2 separate regions of the Homo sapiens genome follow, and region 1 is linked to region 2. Evidence: promoter capture Hi-C in human tissues and cell types (Jung and others, 2019). All regions are on one chromosome and are shown on one strand. Each heading gives the region's core, a stretch centred on a gene start or on the middle of the fragment in contact. The rest is flanking DNA. Distances are from core to core; before and after follow the strand shown.

Region 1 (3,306 bases), core at 12-2,511, 160 kb before region 2:
CTTACACATACTCTGTCCCTAACATGTCATAGTTATATTATAGGAGTAAAGCTCAGACATGTTCCCACCCAGTAAAAGCCACTCACCAGGGCTGGCCATTGTGCAATGGAGACTCGAATGCCCTGGAGAAGGACTGGGTCCTCACGGGGCGCCCATACAAGAGACCCTTCCAGCAGAAGCACGATAACTTCCTCAGCATGAACTTTTACCCAGGAGTGTTGCTTCCAGTTACAGCCATCAAATTCTACAAAGATCTGCAAGAGATAAAAAGCAGTTTGGAAGTCACACTTGGAAAAATCTCACACTATACTTATAAATGAACATAAACCCCACTGTTTTGAACAACTGACTAGGAATAATTCTAACTTGTGTTTAAGTTATTTTAATGGGTGTCAATAATAGCTGATCTTCAGAGCCAGGAAGCTGGTCTCAGCCACATTCTGAAGAGGAGGAACAGAGTTAAGGAGGCATGAACTATTCACAGTCATTCAGTAATTTTTAGTCATGTCCCTACTGAAATTTGCAACTCTTAGTTTCTAATTCGTATCTACACATACTAGCTGAGGGCTTACCATATATAAGGTACTATACTAGGTTCAGGAATACAGAAAGGAATCTGGCATACTTCTTGGTCTCAAAAAGCTCATAATCCAATAGGAAGACATTTTTAATACTTCTATTGAAATGACTGTGAACTTTTAATTATTTTTTGAATAGGTGATGTATGCATATGGCAAAAATTCAAAAAGATAAAATGCTGAAAAACATTGCCCTCCCATTCCTGCGTGTGGATTCTATTGACTGATTGATCGATTGAGACAGGGTCTCACTCTGTCGCCCAAGCTGGAGTGAAATGGCGTGATCTCAGCTCACTGCAACCTCCACATCCTGGGCTCAAAAGATCCTCCTGCCTCAGTCTCCCAAGTAGCTGGAACTACTAGCATGTGCCACCATGCCCGGCTTATTTTTTGTAGAGACGCAGTTTCACCATGTTGCCCAGGCTGGCCTTGAACTCCTGAACAAGGGATCTGTACACCTCAGACTCACAAAGTCTGGGATTGCAGGCATGAGCCACCGTGCCCAGCCTTTTTTAAAATTTAAAATTAAATTAAAATTAATTATTTCGGTAGAGATAGGGTCTTGCTGTGTTACCCAGGCCAGTCTTGAACTTCTGGGCTCAAGTGATCCTCCTACCCTGACCTCCCAAAGTGTTGGGATTACAGGTATGAGCCACCACACCCAGCTGCATGTGGATTCTTAAGTGCAACAGTCAGCAGTAATCTCACATCTGTTAGCAGACACTTGCTGTAGTCACAACAATGCTTTCTTCTTCCCTGAACAGATACTCCACTTCTTGAAATATACTTAAGTAGGCACTGTATTTATACAGCTCTGAAAGCAGATTACATTAAATGAAGCTACATTTTTCTAATAAATATTATGCTTAGATTTGACTTTTTTTTTTTTTTTTTTGAGACAGGGTCTCACTTTGTTGCCCAAACTGAGTGTTGTGGCACAATCATGGCTCACTACAGCCTCGACTTCCTAGGCTCAAGCAATTCTCCCTCAGCCTCCTGGGTAGCTGAGACTACAGGCACACACTACCATGTCCAGGTAATTTTTGATTATTTGTAGAGACAGGGTCTCACTATGTTGCCCAGGCTGGTCTCAAACTCCTGGAGCCAAGCAATCTTCCTGCCTCAGCCTCACAAAGTGCTGGGATTACAGGCGTGAGCTACCCTGGCTGGCCCCAGCTTTGACTTTCTATATAAATTCTGACTTCTGAAGATGAGTGGACACAGCATCAAAAGCTACATATGCGGCCAGGCACGGGGGCTCATGCCTGCCATCCCAGAACTTTGGGAGGCCGAGGCGGGTGGATCACAAGGTCAGGAGTTCACGACCAACTTGGCCAAGATGGTGAAACCCTGTCTCTACTAAAAATACAAAAATTAGCTGGGTATGATGGTGGGCACCTATAATTCCAGCTACTCAGGAGGCTGAGGCAGATGAATCACTTGAACCCAGGAGGCGGAGGTTGCAGTGAGCTGAGATCGTGCCACTGCACTCCAGCCTGGGCAACAAGAGCAAAACTCTGTCTCGGAAAAAAAAAAAAACAAACTCACATGAAACTTCTTAAGGCAACACTAAGTAATGCAGGACAGTATTAGAATCCCCACACATGTGACTCCCAACTGGCAACTGTGGAGTTACCAGGAGGATCTGTAAGTACTAGGGGCACCAGGCATTTCCTGTAGAGTGAATGCCAGGTCTTGCAGATGTATGTGCTATGATTTTTCAAATACATGTAGATGATGTAATTAATAAAATTCAAATCCATTAAAAACTTAATAAAATTTTATGTGTATTTTACCACAGTGGAAAAAATATGAAGGAAAATATTACTGAATTCACAATGGCTTTTTTTTTGTTTGTATACATGTTCTCAAGTAACCAACATAAAAATTATAATGATATGAAAATTCAGGAAATTTATACTTGGAAAGTATGGAACCATAGCTCAGTAGCCTAGCTATCGGTTTAATCTCTTCACAGGCAACAAATACTTGTGAACTGCATTGCTAAAAAGTTATCCCAGAAGTTAAATTCATTATAAAGTTCTAGCTCTATTATCTGTAATACTCCAACAAAGAAATTAGCAATGAGAAAAGTAAGCTTCATTTCTACTTAATAAAAAGATGGAGATGCAAGGCTCAGAGAGAAGCATGATTTTTACTAAGAAAAAGGACAGAACACTGAACTGTACTATATTTAATATATAAATAGGCTCATTCATACATACATGTTGTAGGGGAATAAGACATAGCCCCTGCCTTCAAGTAACTTACAAGCAACTGGAAAGAGAGAGATATATTCAAACTTACATTTAAGTGCAGACTCCGGCACCAAGAAAGGCAGCATAACGTACAAAGCTTGGAGCTCATGTTCCAGGAGGCCTGGATTAGTGTCTCAGTTCCACTCTCTTGCAAAACTTAGACAACTTACTTTTCCTTCCTCAAATCTTAGTTTCCTCTTGTGTGATATGACACATCTTTCTTACCTCATGGACTGGTTGTGAAAATTAAATAAAGGAACAGATTCTAAGCACTTTGGTTGATTATAAAGCACTATTTGGGCAATAGTATGTCACAGGATAAACAGAAATAGGGTAAAATAAGGTATGGTGGGTATTCAGAGGCATAAGATCACTTCAGATGTGCAGAGGAACTGATAGAGGCTGAGGACAACAAAAGCCCCAGTTAAGCTCTGGGATGGTCAGGACCTATTTAACACACTGTCGGAAGG
Region 2 (3,339 bases), core at 218-2,717:
CTGCCACCACGCCCGGCTAATTTTTTTTTTTTTTGTATTTTTAGTAGAGACAGGGGTTTCACCGTGTTAGCCAAGATGGTCTTGATCTCCTGACCTCGTGATCCGCCCGCCTTCGCCTCGCAAAGTGCTGGGATTACCGGCGTGAGCCACCGCGCCCGGCCGAGACCCTTTCTTAAAATAAATAAAATAATAAAATAACAATTTAAAAATAGATAACTTCTATATAACACCCAGTGAATGACAAAATGGTTTCAAAAAAAATTCCCGAGGGGTTGGTAAGATAGTATACTACTATGAAAGGATAAAAACCAAAAAACGCCGAAAATGTTCATGTAATGTTTAAGAACATTGGGCTTTGGAGTAAAATCTGGTTTATAGTCTAGACTCTCTCCTTGGAAGAGTGATAGAACTTCTCTGAGCTTCCGTTTTTTCTTTTTTTTCTTTTCTGGTTTTGTTTTTTTTTTTTTTTTTTTTTGACGGAGTCTCGCTCTGTCGCCCAGGCTGGAGTGCAATGGCACGATCTCGGCTCATTGCAACCTCCGCCTCCCAGGTTCAAGCGATTCTCCTGCCTCAGCCTGCCGAGTAGCTGGGACTACAGACACGTGCCACCACGCCCGGCTAATTTTTATGTATTTTTAGTAGAGACGGGGTTTCACCGTGTTGGCCAGGATGGTCTCGATCTCCTGACCTCGTGATCCGCCCGCCTCGGCCTCCCACAGTGTTGGATTACAGGCTTGAGCCACCGCGCCTGGCCGAGCTTCCGTTTTTCTTTCTATAAAATTGGGATGATACGAATATCATAGTGCTGTTTTTAGGATTAAACCAGATTATAGTTGTAAAAGAGCAGAACCTGTTGTAGGATAAACCCTCAATAAATGTGAAATGTTAACAATTATTGTTAAATAAATGTTACAGAACAATGCTCTCACCCCCACCTCCCCGGGCTACCCGGGGTAAGAAAGGGTAGACAAAGAGGAAAAATCCTCCACATGGGGCGATACATCCTCCTATTTTAAGGAAGAATCCAGAGGCTACCATGCATCTTTCCTAGCATATACATCACTTTGTCATTATCTGGTACAGAGTCGGCCCTGAAACTACACCCTTTCTATTTTTCATCCAATCACATCACCCGTGAAAGGCACTCTCCCTTCTCCACCCTTTCTTGCCCCTACTCCCACCCCTAGCTTCCCAGTTTACTTTTCCCAGTCACTCATTCCCCTCTTCCCCGCCCCGCCCAGAGGTCGTGGCTTCTCCCTCGCCCCGCCTATTTTCTAATTTTCCCGCCTCAGTAGCTCTTGGCCATTTGGGGATGTAGTTGTTTCTTTTCCCCCGCCTCTTCGTGACGTTTCAGAAATAAGACCTATGATTGGTTTTTCCGGAGCAAGAGCCGGCCAATGACAGGCAGATATTTTTGGTGCAGATGGGCAGCCAGTATTATCGCCGATGATTGGCTGGAGTGGCCCGAGTCGGGAAAATGGCTGCGAGTACCTCCATGGTCCCGGTGGCTGTGACGGCGGCAGTGGCGCCTGTCCTGTCCATAAACAGCGATTTCTCAGATTTGCGGGAAATTAAAAAGCAACTGCTGCTTATTGCGGGCCTTACCCGGGAGCGGGGCCTACTACACAGTAGCAAATGGTGAGATGTTGGAGTGGGAAGGGACGGGGCTTGGATCCTTGGCCTTGGGGGGCTTGTCGAGCTGATCTAGTTTGTGTGGGTGTTCCAGGTCGGCGGAGTTGGCTTTCTCTCTCCCTGCATTGCCTCTGGCCGAGCTGCAACCGCCTCCGCCTATTACAGAGGTAAGGACATGTTTACAGTGAGCGCTCCCCATCAACCCAGGGGTGTGCCTCAAGAGCCACTGAGTGCCCTGTCACTGGAGGAGAGCAAACTGCTTAGCAGAAATGTTTGTAGAGGGAATTCAGGCATTCAAAGAGCTGAGTGTTTTAAATGATTTTATCCATTTAGTTTTCTTGAGCTTTGAAAGACTTGGTGGTGCTCTTATTTAAAGCTGGGGAGAATTAGTAAACAATTACTGCTTATGATTTCAGCCTTTTAGGGCTTATAGCCAAACCTAGACATAAGAGTGCCTCATAATAGTAAATATTATTATAAGGAATTATTATAAGGATATCTCATAATAAATACCCAAAAGGATGAGAAGAATCAAAAGTTTTGGTCTGGCGCGGTGGCTCACGCCTGTAATCCCAACACTTTAGGAGGCCGAGGTGGGCGGATCACGAGGTTAGGAGTTCGAGACCAGCTTGGCCAACACGGTGAAACCCCGTCTCTAGTAAAAATACAAAATTAGCCGGACATGGTGGCGCGCGCCTGTAATCCCAGTTACTCGGGAGGCTGAGACAGGAGAATCGCTTAAACCCGGGAGGCGAAGGTTGCAGTGAGCTGAGATCGCGCCATTGCACTCCAGCCCGAGGGCAGAGCGGGACACTGTCTCAAAATAAATAATAAATAAATAAAGTTTTTACAATACCTACACTGTTGTCTGATCAGCATAGCAAATAATGGTTAAGTTTGGGTGCTGGATTGAGACGACTCTGGGTTCAAATGACCTTTGGCAACTTAACCTTCTGAGCCAGTTTCCTCATCTGTGCAGTGACGATAGTAATAGTATCTACTCAATGGGGATATTGAGAGAAGTCAATGAGATAATAATATAGACCGCTTAGAAGTGTGCCTGGTGCTTGCATCTATATTTCGGTCAAGTTCTTTATTAGCAGCACCAATGTGGGCAAATGATTTCTAAGTGACAGCCTTCTCATCTATAGATAATGTTAATAATTGCTGCATTTTCAAGAAGATTAAATAAAGCAATAAGGGTAAAGCATACGGTATACTCTTAGGTAAATTTTTTGAGTCAATGCAGTTTATATTTGTCTCATTAGCTTTTACTCTTGTGCCCACTTTCATAATGCCTAGGCCCATCGTTGGTCCTGAATAGGATAAATAATTGTTTTTGTTGTTTAAATTTTAGATTCAGGGGTTACTTGTGCAGATTTGCTACATGGATATATTGTGTGATTCTGAGGTTGGGCTTCAGTTGAACCCATCATCCAAATAGTGAACATAATACCTGATAGACAGTTTTATTTTATTTTACTTTTTTTTTTTTTTGAGACGGAGTCTTGCTCTTGTTGCCCAGGCTGGAGTGCAATGGCATGATGGCTCACTGCAACCTCTGCCTCCCGGGTTCAAGCAATTCTCCTGCCTCAACCTCCCGAGTAGCTCGGATTACAGGCACCCGTCACCACGCCTGGGTAACTTTTTGTATTTTTAGTAGGGACAGGGTTTCACCCTGTTTACCAGGCTGGTCTGGAACTCCTG

The links. The method cuts DNA at HindIII sites, captures the fragments that hold promoters and counts their contacts. A contact is called where the count stands out against the background at its distance.
Region 1: a contact is called between a fragment that was not itself captured here and the fragment with the promoter of CDC23 in region 2, in 2 of the 25 tissues and cell types used here (dorsolateral prefrontal cortex and mesendoderm cells).

Annotation. Positions count from the first base shown.
Region 1 is chr5:138,369,622-138,372,927 of GRCh38, reverse strand. KDM3B (lysine demethylase 3B) reads right to left here. Exons shown (of 24, transcript NM_016604.4): 2 at 87-254. Among named protein-coding and RNA genes, the nearest start is that of KDM3B, 19 kb to the right of the region's middle. RefSeq lists enhancers at 1,152-1,652, 1,653-2,153. The HindIII fragment of the contact is 5,343 bases long and covers 1-3,306 here.
Region 2 is chr5:138,211,451-138,214,789 of GRCh38, reverse strand. It overlaps CDC23 (cell division cycle 23), which reads left to right and starts at 1,467. Exons shown (of 16, transcript NM_004661.4): 1 at 1,467-1,638; 2 at 1,727-1,799. The coding sequence starts at 1,478. RefSeq lists an enhancer at 1,156-1,450. The HindIII fragment of the contact is 12,003 bases long and covers 1-3,339 here.